5 separate regions of the Homo sapiens genome follow, and all the other regions are linked to region 1. The links are contacts of gene promoters, found by promoter capture Hi-C in blood cells and fetal thymus (Javierre and others, 2016). All regions are on one chromosome and are shown on one strand. Each heading gives the region's core, a stretch centred on a gene start or on the middle of the fragment in contact. The rest is flanking DNA. Distances are from core to core; before and after follow the strand shown.

Evidence for each region. The method cuts DNA at HindIII sites, captures the fragments that hold promoters and counts their contacts. A CHiCAGO score of 5 or more calls a contact.
Region 2: a fragment that was not itself captured here is called in contact with the fragment with the promoter of TNFRSF19 in region 1 in 2 of 17 cell types (M2 macrophages and erythroblasts); the score reaches 8.0 in M2 macrophages.
Region 3: a contact is called between a fragment that was not itself captured here and the fragment with the promoter of TNFRSF19 in region 1, in 1 of 17 cell types (M2 macrophages). The highest score is 6.5, in M2 macrophages.
Region 4: a contact is called between a fragment that was not itself captured here and the fragment with the promoter of TNFRSF19 in region 1, in 1 of 17 cell types (M2 macrophages). The highest score is 6.2, in M2 macrophages.
Region 5: a contact is called between a fragment that was not itself captured here and the fragment with the promoter of TNFRSF19 in region 1, in 1 of 17 cell types (M2 macrophages). The highest score is 5.9, in M2 macrophages.

What each region holds. Positions count from the first base shown.
Region 1 is chr13:23,568,987-23,571,746 of GRCh38, reverse strand. TNFRSF19 (TNF receptor superfamily member 19) reads right to left here and starts at 1,335. Exons shown (of 10, transcript NM_148957.4): 1 at 899-1,335. The HindIII fragment of the contact is 1,879 bases long and covers 1,327-2,760 here.
Region 2 is chr13:23,804,954-23,807,713 of GRCh38, reverse strand. It overlaps MIPEP (mitochondrial intermediate peptidase), which reads left to right. Exons shown (of 19, transcript NM_005932.4): 16 at 1,645-1,764. Among named protein-coding and RNA genes, the nearest start is that of PCOTH, 83 kb to the left of the region's middle. RefSeq lists an enhancer at 643-792. The HindIII fragment of the contact is 5,872 bases long and covers 1-2,760 here.
Region 3 is chr13:23,787,722-23,790,481 of GRCh38, reverse strand. The region is part of intron 16 of MIPEP (mitochondrial intermediate peptidase); the gene reads left to right. Among named protein-coding and RNA genes, the nearest start is that of PCOTH, 100 kb to the left of the region's middle. RefSeq lists an enhancer at 538-587. The HindIII fragment of the contact is 814 bases long and covers 911-1,724 here.
Region 4 is chr13:23,759,470-23,762,229 of GRCh38, reverse strand. MIPEP (mitochondrial intermediate peptidase) reads left to right here. Exons shown (of 19, transcript NM_005932.4): 17 at 2,013-2,134. Among named protein-coding and RNA genes, the nearest start is that of PCOTH, 130 kb to the left of the region's middle. The HindIII fragment of the contact is 1,912 bases long and covers 394-2,305 here.
Region 5 is chr13:23,719,635-23,722,394 of GRCh38, reverse strand. No RefSeq gene overlaps it. Among named protein-coding and RNA genes, the nearest start is that of TNFRSF19, 150 kb to the right of the region's middle. The HindIII fragment of the contact is 3,546 bases long and covers 1-2,760 here.

The DNA of each region.
Region 1 (2,760 bases), core at 86-2,585:
AGTTAACTTTCAAATTCGGTACAGCAATATAATTTGGTTTTGTCATGTTGGGCATTAGCTAAAGTGAAAATGTGACTAAGATACTTTATGTAACATAATAACTGTTGATTACTCAGATAGTTTTCATAAACAGTTGGCAAATTTTGACTTAAAACAGCTGTCACTATAAATGTAAAGTAAATGTTAATTTAGGAATATTAACCTTGTGAATGTTTCTGTAAATAAGGCTTATGCTATTTCCAAAGGTTATAGAAAATCACTGGAGTATTTTTAGCCAAACTTAGTGCAACTTTATCCTCACTGTTTTTAAATTCTTCAGTTTTACACATAAAAGTCTTTAATCATACTTGATGGTTTTTCAGTGATTCCCTTGAGTGTACAAACTGCATAAGGAAGTGTATTTGATAGATTTACATCTTGGAAGTGAGAGAATAAATAAACTAAAGAAACAGTATTGCCAGAGATACATTTTACTCTTTTATATAAGAAAACAAAGAAAGCATTTTCAACAAGCAAAGTTGCACTGACTGTTTACTAAATAAGGTAACCTGTAAATACTTAGAGCAATTATAGCTCACAGATCTCAGGGGTTGAAGTACCAGTTGCATGCTAAAGTGAGCGCTGTTCTGTTTTGTCCTGTTTGTACAACTCATTTCCAAGTAAAATTTGTATGACAGACTGCAAACCCTCTTGTACAAACTACTAAAAATTACATCAAGTTCCATAGTTACTCTGATACACACATTCAGCATCATGTAGTATTCAGCTGTATAAATGCTTTCTAAAAAATTAATTAAAACCATTCTTTTCTCAGAACACATGCGAAAAATGCAGTGAAAGCTATAACAAAGCTTAAAACAGAGTACCTGCAACATGCTGAGCTCTTTGCAGTACTTACCCGTTCAGCAACTTAGTTTCTCCTGGCAGCACTTCTGTGCCAAATGCTTCTACCTTCCCAAAAATGTATGTCAGCACAAGCCCAGACGAAACTTCAAATCCAGGAAAATAAAATTAACCATGCAGATCAAAGGCAGACGAGCAGGGAGATGAAATGCCTGTAATCTGATCAGTGAATCAGTTGCTGAACATCAAAGGCAGGGCTGAGTTTATATATATGCATGGATATCAAAGAAAGTTCACTTTCAGCAGGTAGTTACCCTCCCACCTCCTAGTCCACAGACTCTTTTGTTAAACATGGATCACGTTGTTTTCCTCCTCTTTTTTGCAATGAGGCAATGCTGGTAGTTCTCCCATGCTTGGGCTGAGTGGCTGGATCTGTAGCTTTTTTGGTTCCCAAGCTGTGTTGTGGACTGTGTGTTGGAAGCTTTTCCTAGTGCCAGCGGGTTCTGCTTTATCCCTTTCATCTCGCTGAACTGCAGATCCCATGACATCATTCAGCGCCGTGGGACTGGTAGGAGAGCTATAATTCAGCCTGTGGGGGAGTATAGCTCAAGAGAAGCCAGAGTTTGGCTGATTTCTAATCATGTTAGACTATTGTGCCTCACACAGGACAGTTTCTGTTATCTGTCTGCCAGCTGGAAAGGACAGCAACTGCTGCTGGATGCTTCTTGGGTGATAAGATCCCTGATGGATGGACGTGCCAAATGACAGCATTTAATTGCCTCTTCGCTGATAAAAATCACAATTTCCTACAGAGACTGGGTGTCAAATATTCAGCATAGTTAAATAGCACTATGAGACCACTCTAAAAAACACCCAAGGACACTGCCAGATGGACCGATAACATTTTCACATTTTGATTCCAGTTTTCAAAGTGACAAGTCTTTAAGGATTTTAAGGAAACTGCCCTTTCTTTGAAACATACATTATTAGGATCTGATTACCAATCAAACCGGGTTGTGTTAAGTAGTTAAGCAGCAGATAACCAACAATTCATGAATAAACTGCCATCTTCCACTGGCTCACTTAAGACTTTGGGCGGAGACTTAATCTCAATCTTTGCCTTAGTTCGGGACTCTGGAAATTAGATTTTAAAGCAATATCTACTTCTTAGACATATTTCATTAATACTTGTTGAGCATTTTAAAATTCACAAAAGAAGAATTATGTAGAACAAAGCATTTGCCCTGTGATTATTCCAAAGCCATGTTATTTGCCTTTTAGGGCTGTTTCTTCCGAACTCATAGTTTGGACTTTCAACTCACTAAAAAATTACCACCTTAGCCTAATTCTTCGTATTTTAAAATTAAATATATTGCTCATTATTTAAAAATTTTAAGCTATTTTCCTTAACAATGTCAGATTCAATACAATATGATTATTTTATTTTGAGTATTTAGTAAAATAGAAGATAAGAAGAAGTTTCATCTTCCTTGAAATCCAGGATATGGTGCTTTTCTGATTTTCAGACAGTTCTTTCATGGAATGAAGACAATTTTTCTATTTTATAATGGAAACTCACTAACTTTTAGAAAGTAAGTTAAAAATATTTTTGCAAAACTTAGGGGATAGTAGAACTCAGTCTTTTTCAATGTAACTTCCCTCCTTAACTGGTTTTGTCTAATTTTTCCTGACGCGATATTTGAAAACGTTATTTATGAAGTGTTTATTTCCAGATTTCTATGATTCTTGAATAATTTTAATAGCAAAATATTTAGTTTGAACTGTTCATAAGTTCTGTATAACATTTAAATAGTCCTGTTGATTTTTCCATGTTTCTTGTATAATTTTTCTACTTATACATCATTTCTCAAAAATGCACAGGGCTCAAATAGTATTTGAACTGGCAGGTGTGATGCT
Region 2 (2,760 bases), core at 88-2,587, 240 kb before region 1:
TCTGTTAGAATATAGGTAAGACATTGAGTAATTTTGGCCTCCCTGATTATCTTTATGCATCGTTACTCATTATAAAATGTAGAATTGAAAGAGCTATATTTAGCTATATGTTTAGATTACCAGTTAGAAGAAAGCAATATTTATATTTAGGAAATGTCTGTATTTTTCTAGGGAAGGTTTAAACTTAACTTTATAATTTAGAACCATAATTCTATATCTAGATGCAGCCAGAAGCCAGAGGTCATTTAAATTTTCTCTTTTAACCAAACTAATCCTCACTTCTTTCAAGTCAACAGCTGCACATTCTCTACAAATCCCATTTCTGAATCACAAAGATACATATCAGAAGCATAATTGCGTGTCAAAATTTGTCCTTTAAAATAAAGCATTTTCTACTTGCCTGCATGAAGTCAAATGTTCAAGTCAGTGTTGAAAAACAATATTTGAGTCAGATGTTGCAGTGAAAAAATGCTTTATGTTTATTTTAGATTTCTTTGCAAAATTTAGTTTTCAGTACTTTGTAAACAGCAGATTTCATGTCCAAACTTTCTTTAATGCTTTCTTCTCCCACTGTGTTTCAGTGGCCTATATCCTCTACTCAGAGGAGAGTGCTCCTTTTCCCCTGGTCATCTAGTTGAGCCCTCCCTATACAGCAGCTGCTTCCTTTGTACTTCCTGACACCAGGTGTGGGAGTCTAGTTCCAACCTCTCCAACAGCTGCATCAGAATTCTTCGATACATCTATACTCACGAGATGCTGCATTGCTATTTCTTTCTCTACCCCCACCACACCTATTTAATTTTCTTTCACCTTTTATCACAAAACTAGAATTCTGACCGTTTCATTTCTCTCATTTAAGATATATCAGGATTCCAGGAGGAAACCAAACAACATTTGTTAGATCCAGCGGGTCTAAAGTTGTAACTGGTTTTGTATATTTCTGCCTACAGATAGATAGATAGATAGATAGATAGATAGATAGATAGATAGATAGATATAGATTTTTTTGTTGTTGTTGTTGTTTTTTGTTTGGTTTTTTTTTTTGAGACGGAGTCTCTCCCAGGCTGGAGTGCAGTGGAGCAATCTCGGCTCACTGCGAGCTCCGCCTCCCAGGTTCACGCCATTCTCCTGCCTCAGCCTCCCGAGTAGCTGGGACTAGAGGTGCCTGCCACCACGCCTGTCTAATTTTTTTGTATTTTTAGTAGAAACGGGATTTCACTATGTTAGCCAGGATGGTCTTGATCTCCTGACCTCGTGATCCTCCCGCCTCGGCCTCCCAAAGTGCTGGGATTACAGGCGTGAGCCACCGCGCCTGGCCTTCCGTCTACATATATTTTGGCAAAATTCCAGTTTTGTGTCACATATTTGATTTGCTGCCATTGTACATAAAGAGTATCTTATGGGTATGGTTCAAAATTCTTTAATATTCTTATTTATGAAAAGGTTGAGAGCATTCCTTTTAATCTTTAGCATGGTCTTAAATGTGGTATGAAATACATTTCAAACCATGTAAGTTTATTTTTGTGACTGTTTTCAACTGTGATTGGTAACTGTTGTTCTGGTGCACTTATAGCATCTTTGGTCAACCACATCTTGATGTGAGGATGGACGACCAAAACTAAGTAGATGTTTTTATCTATCTAGGTCTTTTATGCCACTCTGGATCAAATCTACCATGGGAAGCATCCCCTGAGGAATTCAACCACAGACATTCTCAAGGAAACACAAGAGAAATTCTATGGCCTACCATATGTTCCAAATACTGTGAGTCCAGCATTTGGCTTCTGTTTTGTGTATTGAGTGGTTCTGCTATTACTTCTGTAGCTTGTGATTATCTTCCCCTTTGGAGAACTTGAAATCCCTACATTTATGTTGAGGCTTCACATGGCTCAAATGCTGGAAATTGCCTGGTTCATTTAATATTTCCAACTACCCATTTATATGTTCTTATTTTCCTCCCTCTAACAGTGTTTTTGTACCTTTTTGGAAATGTGGGGGTTAAAAAGGCCATTGGAGTTGGTCTATATTCTTCTTTTTAGTTATTTTTCTACAATGTGAAAAATAGTGATGTAAGATGAATGTGATTACCAGTCCTGAATCATTTTCATTGCAAAGAGAATTAACATGTATTGAGTATCTTACATTGTACCAGGAATTATAATAGATGCTTTACATATCTTATCTTGTTGAGTACCATGTCAGGAGAGAGAGCAGGAGTAATGTTACCATTTATTGGATTCTAGGCGCCAGACTCTATCTAATTCCTTTGGGAAAAGATCTCTAATTTAGCTCTCAAAATAACCTTATAAATTAAATTATATCCTTGTATTTGGGGCTCATTTGGAGGCACAGACACATTATATGTCCTGTCTGAGATCATCTAGGTAGTTAAGTGATTGTATGGGGGTTCAAAACAAACAGGCTTTTTTCATCACTCAAAGGCTCGTGTAAGGAGCAGTTGAGCACCGTGACTCCTAGTGCAATTAACAGTGTGATTCTTGGTGCAGTTAGCAATGTGACTGACTTAATGTTACCCAGGCCTTTCTCAGCTGCAAGTGATAGAAACGTGGTTCACACGGACTTAAACAGAAAAGGGAATTTATTGAGTCTTGTAACTGAAAGGTGCAGGGGTATAGGGGTGTTTCAAGTAAGTTGGATTTAGGTCTCCCACAATGTCGTTAGAAATGTTTCTCTCTCTTTCTGCCTCTCAGCTCGGTGTTTTTCTGGGTTCCTTTCATTCTCTGGCAATCCCCCCAGACT
Region 3 (2,760 bases), core at 68-2,567, 220 kb before region 1:
ATCTGCAAAGTCCATTTTTTTCCCAAATAAGGTGACATTCACAGGTTCTAGGGATAGGATGTGGACATCTTTGGAGGAGAGGGCATTATTCTTTCTGCCACACAGAACATTTGAAAGATTAGCTTTGGGGGCATTGCTGTCATCAGAATTCTAACAGGAGTAGGATTGGTGAGAGTGAAGTAAAACAGAAGTAAGAAATCTTCAAGGAGTGAGTGAGAAGGACGGACGCTTCTGCTAGTGACTGCAGTAGTGAAGGGTAAAGAGGATTATGGTCCACTGTCAGCAAAATCAGAGTTGGAGTGTTCTGAAGGAGAAGGAACTGGCAGTGAAAACCAGAGCCAACACCTACTTGCCTTCAGACCCAGTCATATGCAGGATTTGGCGAGAAACCAGCCGTGTCATGAAAAAGTTGCAAGGGAAGTATGGTTCTTAGCAGAGACCTGGGTTTCTTTTAGAATAAAAAGGTGAAAGGAACCTTCAAAGAAGGCAGAGGAAAATACAGGTGGTTTTGCTGATGACTGGATTTTAGAAAGCTCAGCAGAAGAAAAGGGAGGAAAAAGAAGAGGGCAGAAAGTGGATACAGAGAACAGCCAGGAGAGCAGTGCTGCCATAGTCATGGGTATCCACAGGGTTAAAGGTCTCAAGACTGATCGCAGTGGAACTGCTAGTGCGGGTAGAGGGGAGGGTGGGAATTCCCAGCAGAGCACGAGGGCGTAGGATGAGGAAAGCCCCAAACCCGGCAGGTGGGAGAAACTGAGGGTCAACAAGAAGGGCATGGAAAGTGAGATCTGTTTTTATGTTAGCTTGCCAAATAGAAGTACAGTATTTCTTTCTCTTTATTTGTACCTGATACTCTGGGTAATGCAGAGGCCAGGATGACCGTTCAGTTTTGTGCTGAAGCTAAGAAGCTTTGCGTAGCTTTCCAAACTTTGGAGTAATGCTATGGGGCCAGAATAGACTGAGGACTAAGGCATTTACCTAAGGTGTTCCGGGCAGAATTAGTACACACATTGCCTGACATTTGGACTGGAGCTCTTTCTGTTACTCTATTTTACTGTCATGAAGTAAATTCCAGATAGAGTAAACATTTAAATGGAAAAACATAAGCCATTAAAAAAGGCTTCTATAGACAGATAGCTCTTTTTCATTTAGAGAAGGTTGGTAAATGTAATAGAAATGGAAGAAATCACAAATGCAAAGAGTAGTAGATTTGAACTTCTCTCATAAAACATGATGAATAAAATGTACTGGCAAACAAACTGGTTTTTTTAAATTATAACATCTGTGACATATGGTTTACGTTTTGCTGCATAAAGAGCTCATACAAATAAAACAATGACAACAGAAGAACAATTTTTTAAAAATCCCAACATTGGCCAGGTGCAATGGCTCACACCTGTAATCCCAGCACTTTGGGAAGGCAAGGTGGGCAGATTGCTTGAGCCCAGGAGTTCAAGACCAGCCTGGGCAACATGACGAGACCATGTCTCTACAAAAAATAAACTTAGCTGGGCATGTTGCTGCATGCCTGTAGTCCCAGCTACTTGGGAGGCTGAGGTAGGAGGATTGCTCCACTGAGATAGATAATTTTATATTTGTTCATAAAAGGATAAATTTGTTTAAAAGGAGGGACCAAGAACCTGAAGAGTTTACATATCCCTTAAGCCAATAATGTAACATTTAAGAATTTGTTCTAAAGGAATAAATAGAAATCCAATAAAGCTTGGTGAACTGATCATCATAACATGTACAAAAACATTGGAAAGAATCCAGCATTCAAGGAATGGCTAGATAAACTAGTGCGCATCATGTGGTTGTCACTAGGCCTGCTCACTAGTAATCCAGCTCTCCTATCTCTGCCCCATGGTAGAATTGCACTTTCATGCCCCTTGCAGTTATTTGTGGCCTTGTGACTTAATATGACCAAAGAAATGTGAGCAGAAGTGATGTGTATCATTCCTAGGCTGTGGCCTTCGAGAGCTACTATACAGTTGTCCACATCTCCTGCCCTTGGTTCAGCAGTCAATGACATTCCAGTTGGTGGAGGTCTTGAGAACATGGGTTCCTAAATACTGATAGTGCGAGACGGGCCCACTGACCTGTGATGACATGTTGTATGCTCAAGGAGCAAACACAGAGATTTTAGGGTTCATGTGATCACATTGTAACATAGCATAGCCTAATATGGCCCATATGAAATAATATGCAGTCATTCATGTTTAGAAAGAATTCATAAATAAGTTTAGGGAAAAACTGATAGGAAAGTATACATAGTGTGATTTTGTCTTTTTAAAATAGACTGAAGAAAACTTTGAAACATTAGCAAATATTGATCACACACGTGGATTAAGGGTGGGAGTTTCCTTTTTTATATTTTTCACAGTATTCCATTTTTTCTCTAATGAGCATGTATTCCTTCTAAAATCAGAAGAGGAAACACACAAACATATGCACACCCACCCTCCTCCAGCTGACTCCCAGTGGTATGGCCATTCAGTTCTCTGTGAACCATTAAAGAGGCCACGCTCATGGAAATGATAGTAATCATAGGGACCCTTTTTTACCTGAAGAGTGCAGCTGAGGTGGAGGATCAGGACTAAACTTAACTTGGGCTCAGAGTAGAAATTTCCTGTCATCATGGCTTTAGTTCTAGATATAACATCCATTTCCCTAGAGCCTAAATTCTTTCCCTCTCCTTTAAATGATCTTGGAGATAGAGAATGCAAACTCACTTGCCTCGGAAAAGCTGCATCCTAAAAG
Region 4 (2,760 bases), core at 100-2,599, 190 kb before region 1:
TGGGGAGTTAACAGCTTTGTTAAAGAGTGTTGTTATCATGGTTAAAAAAAAAGTTAAGCTTTTTAAAAAAGTTGTTTATTTATTTTTTAATTATTATTATTTTTTGAGACAGATTCTTGCTCTGTCGCCTAGGCTGGAGTGCAGTGGTGCGATCTTAGCTCACTACAACCTCCGCCTCCCGGGTTCAAGCAGTTCTCCTGCTTCAGCTTCCCAAGTAGCTGAGATTACAGACTTGTGCCGCCACGCCTGGCTAATTTTTGTATGTTTAGTAGAGACAGGGTTTCACCATGTTGGCCAGGCTGGTCTCGAATTCCTGGCCTCAAGTGACCCAGCTGCCTCAGCCTCCTGATGTGCTGGGATTACAGGCATGAGCCACTGTGCCCGGCCCAAGCTTCTGTTTTTTAAAAGAAATGTTTATGTCAGATAAAGACAGAAGAAAGTGGATGATTGCTGTGTCAGATTTGTTTCAGAAAAGTAAAAATGTTAAAGTCCTAAGTGTAGCCTTTGAGGACAGTTTTCATAGTCCCAGCCTTGGCTGGGGTGACGTTACAGCAGATATACCATCGCAAGCTCGTGTGCCGTGCTTGCATAGCCCTGCACCTGCTGATGAATTGGAATGGAGATGTTTTCCACTTTAGCAACAGAAAAAGAGCAGTATTCGTAGGAAAAGAAGTTTCCAGTGGAACTGTGTCCTTCCATGAAAATCCATGTGGCTTTTCCTATCATAACTACTACATTGTCCTGAGATAGAATGGATGCTCTCTCTCTGTGCCAGACTCCAAATTCTCTCCTCCAATGTTGATGACCAGGCGTTCCAAGTGGGTCAGAACAGATGTGCACCTCCACCCGGCTCCACCATTGGCACTCCTGCCACCGTCTCTAGGCTGTCTTTACGTTTCTGTCACAGAAGTGAATCCCAAAGTGATGAACTTGTACAAAACAATTAGGTGTCCGCTTCTTCCTTCTTATGATTAGAAAATAAGTGGAAGGAGCTTAGAGAAGGAGGGACAACAGTTTGTTCACCCTTCTTCCACTGAGAGGCAAGTTGCTGGTGGTTATCTTTGGTTCTTAGCGTTTGTCTCTTCTTAAAAAAAAAAAAAAAGAATGCATTCCCAGATTACCCCTCTTTGTATAGTAATGATTTTTAAATTCTGTCCCATTTTTCTTCTGCTCTGTGACTTTTTGTTTTGTCATAAAATGTAATTATGGTAAAAACATGGAAGGTTTTTGTGTTACAAAAACTAGTTCATGAAAAGCAGTTCATGCAACAGAGAATCATTGCAGAGTACAACTCTCTGAACTAACTAAATTATTAAAAATAAATAAACTCCTGACTTTACTGTTTTTGTAGATAGTCATGTGAAATAAAATGTATTATAATCAGTGTAATTAAACTCACTTAATGAAGAAGAATAGCCATATATTTGGAGCAAAACATATACATCTATATATGATTATATTTATGTGATACAAAATTTTCTTTGTGTATGTCTTAGTGTGCTAAGGCTGCCTTCACAAAATGCCAGAGACTATGTGGCTTAAACAACAGAAATTTACTTCCCACTGTTTTGGAGGCTGGAAGTCCAGACCAAGGTGTCAGCAGATCTGGCTTCTCCCGAGGCCTCTTTGGCTTGCAGACAGCCTTTCCTCTGTGCCCACACCCTGGCATCCACCTTTCCTCCTCTTCCAAGATACCAGTGAGTTTGGGCAAGGGCCCAGTCTAAGAGCTTCACTTTTACTTAATCACGTCTTTGGAGGCTGTGTCTCCTAATAAGTCACATTCTGAGGTATGGCTTTGGGTTTCAACATGTGAATTTTCAGGAGACACAGTTCAGCCCTAACAGTGTATAAAATGTGAAAATATTGATATCATAGGTGACGTAGCCTTCTAGGGTAAAATGCAAATGAAAGCATTTACGGGTCTCTCTGTGTCTCCACTGTGTTCTCACATGTGATATTCTCCAAGTGGAAACTGACTTGTGTCCCGTGCTGTGTCTCTCTGTTCTTGGCAGGCCTGGCAGCTGCGATTCAGCCACCTCGTGGGGTATGGTGCTAGATATTACTCTTACCTCATGTCCAGAGCGGTCGCCTCCATGGTTTGGAAGGAGTGTTTTCTACAGGATCCTTTCAACAGGTAAGGGGGTAAGTTCTAAAATGTCCCCATCTTGGACCACAGTAATTCCCCACTCTATTACATCTGGAAGTCGGGCTCGAGAACTGCAGCCCACATAACACAGCCAAACCTGGCAGAAAGTGGCAGGCTCCCCACACAGCCTCGCCCCACTTGGCCATTCCCACCCAAGCTTGCTCCTGCTTCCCGCAGCTGACCGGTGGCCCTGGACATCCCCCTACCCTGCAGCCACTGTGTAGAGGTGGCTGTGTGGTGTCTGAGGGAACCCTTGTATGAGGGCTCCTGTGCTACCTGAAGCAGCCCCTGCTGCTCCTGTGGGTTTTCTTGGCTTTTCTGACCTCACCACGTGATACGGGATGCCCACCCCTTTCCACAGAATGGAGGCAAAACAAGGCACTGGAGAGGCTGGGAGCATTGTCGGGAGGAAGTAGGGGTGCCTAGGATCAGTAGTCCTGCTTTCCCAATCTCTTTCTAAAGGCCAGGTAGTGGTTAAACTTCCATTGGGTGGAGAGGTACAGGAGATCCCTTGCTTCCTGGAGGGTGTGAGGGATTCTATGCTGTGGCTGGGGGATGCAGGGGATCCTGTGCTGTCTAGGGGGGTGTGGGGGATCCCGTCCCGTGCTGTCTTG
Region 5 (2,760 bases), core at 190-2,689, 150 kb before region 1:
GGTGGAGCGAACCCGTCACTAGTGGACATGCAGTGGCAGAGCTCCTGGTAACCACCTAGAGGAATACACAGGCACATGTGTGAGGCCAAGCGTGACACCTGTAGCACTCAAATTTGTCTTGTTTTTGTCTTTCGGTGTGTAGATTCTTAGTACAGTGTGTATTTGTTCAGAGGTCAAATCAATTACTGCGCATTTACTGAGCACTTTGCTGGGTGCTACAGACCCAAAGATGAATAAAACATGAATTCTACCCTTGCACTCCTAACCGTGTAGTCAGTAGGTGCTGAGGAATCAATGGAGTGTCAGAGTGATGCTGCAAAGTAGACAAGGATTTTAAAAGGAAGCGAGACCTCAGGAAGATTTTGAGGTAAACGATAAGAGAGAATTAGAAAAGCAACTGAAAACAGGGCTCCATATACCCATCTGAAGGATCTGCCTGCCTCCACTTTGAAGCAAGTCCATTCCTGCAAGACGAGCTACCCAAGGATGCCAAAATGTAAAAAGGATTATCGGACATCTGTCCAAACCTATAGACCATACCACAGCAAGAGTAAATGTGAACCAACATAACCTGTGGACTCTGGGTGGTGGTGCCGCATCAGTGTAGGTTCATAGCCTGTAACCAGTCTACCACTCTGGATGCAGGATGCCGATATGGCGGAGACAGCGGGGAGGGGTGCACAGGAAATTTCTGTTCCTTCCACTCCATTTTGCTGCGAACCTAAAACTGCTGAGTGGATAATGTATGTCTTAAGGAGTTCCTGTGCAATTTGCACATTACAGCACTTTCCTTCTATACCATGGAAGGGGAGGGAGGTCCTGGAGACAGACAGAGCCCAGAAGAGTGACAGAGACACCAGGTCTGAGTGGTCTCAGTGTCCCCAGCCCCTGCAGCATCTGATACGGTTTGGCTCTGTGTCCCCACCCAATCCCACGTGTCGGAGGAGACCTGGTGGGAGGTGATTGGATTATGGGGGGGATTTTCCCCATGCTATTCTTGTGATAGTGCATGAGTTCTCATGAGACCTGATAGTTTAAAAGTATGTGGCAGGCTGGATGTGGTGGCTTATGCCTGTAACCCCAGCACTTTGGGAGGCCAAGGCAGGCGGATTGCTGGAGCCCAGGAGTTTTAGACCAGCCTGAGCAACATAGTGAGACCCCATCTCTACTAAAACTACAAAAATTAGCTAGGTGTGGTGGTGCATACCTGTGGTCCCAGCTATGCGGGAGGCTGAGGCATGAGAATTGCTTGAACCTGTGAGGCAGAGGTTGCAGTGAGCTGAGATCATGCCACTGCACTCCAGCCTGGGCAACAGGGCCAGACTCTTGTCTCAAAAAAAAAAAGTTTGTGGCAGTCTCCCCCCTCACTCGTTCTCTCCTGCCACCATGTAAGACGTGCCTTGCTTCCCCTTCGCCTTCCACCATGATTGTAAGTTTCCTGAGGCCTCTCCAGCCATGTGGAACTGTGAGTCATTAAACCTCTTTTCTTTATAAATTACCCAGTCCCAGCTGTGTGCGGTGGCTCATGCCTGTAATCCCAGCACTTTGGGAGGCAGGCGGATCACGAGGTCAGGAGATGGAGACCACAGTGAAACCCCGTCTCTACTAAAAATACAAAAAAAGATTAGCCGGATGTGGTGGGGGGCTTCTGTAGTCCCAGCTACTTGGGAGGCTGAGGCAGGAGAATGGTGTGAACCTGGGAGGCGGAGCTTGCAGTGAGCTGAGATCACACCACTGCACTCCAGCAAGGGCGACAGAGTGAGACTCCGTCTCAAAAATAAATAAATAAATAAATATAAATTACCCAGTCCTGGGCATTTTTTTGTAACATTTGTTTGTAACAGACTAATACAGCACCTGATGCAGCTGTTACAAACTGTTGAGCTGAAGACACCACAAGAGAGCATGGATCATGGCAGAGAGAGGAAAGGGTTCTGAGTGGTAGAATGGTGACAGCGCTCAGCACTGCAAGGCATCAGGGAGGACACTGGGCTCCCAGGGAATTTTAGAACTGAGGGAATGGTGAATGGAGCGAGAAGCCAAGAGAAAAAGTAAGGAACAAATGATGAGGAAATAGAAGCAAGGAACACAGATTATTCACAAAGCCTGGCCAGGGTGATGGGAAGAGCAATGGGATGGCACATCATGCTCATCTGACCTCATGGTCAGCTGCCCCCCAAGGAGCACAGGAGGCCAGACCAGGCCATGTGTGATGCTGCAGGGCACCAACCCCAGAGGTCTGTAGAAAGAGTATGTATTACACACTCTTGTGTAACATGTGCATACATCCACCAGAGCGGTACACGTTACAACCCATGAACCTACACTGACCCAGGGTCCACAGGTTACACTGGTTCACATTCACTCTTTCTGCGGTACAGTCTATAGGTCTGTAACGCAGTGATGTATTACACACCCTGCACCATCACGGAGCATCACAGTCCCATGTTCAGGGCTGTGCACCACACATTCTTAGGACAGACACTGTGATGCTTAATTGTATGTAGCAACTTCACTGGGCCACAGTGCCCAGATATGTGGACAAACATTATTTATTCTTGGTGTTTCTGTGAGGGTGTTTATAGATGAAAATAACATTAGAATTAGTGGACTTTGAGTAAAACAATGCCCTCCAAATATAGGTGGGCCCTGTCCAATCATGTGAAGGCTTGAATAGAACAAGACCAACCTTCCCAAGCAAGAGGGGATTCTTGAGAATACTGCCTCTTGCCTTTATCTGCACCATCAGCTTCTCCTGGG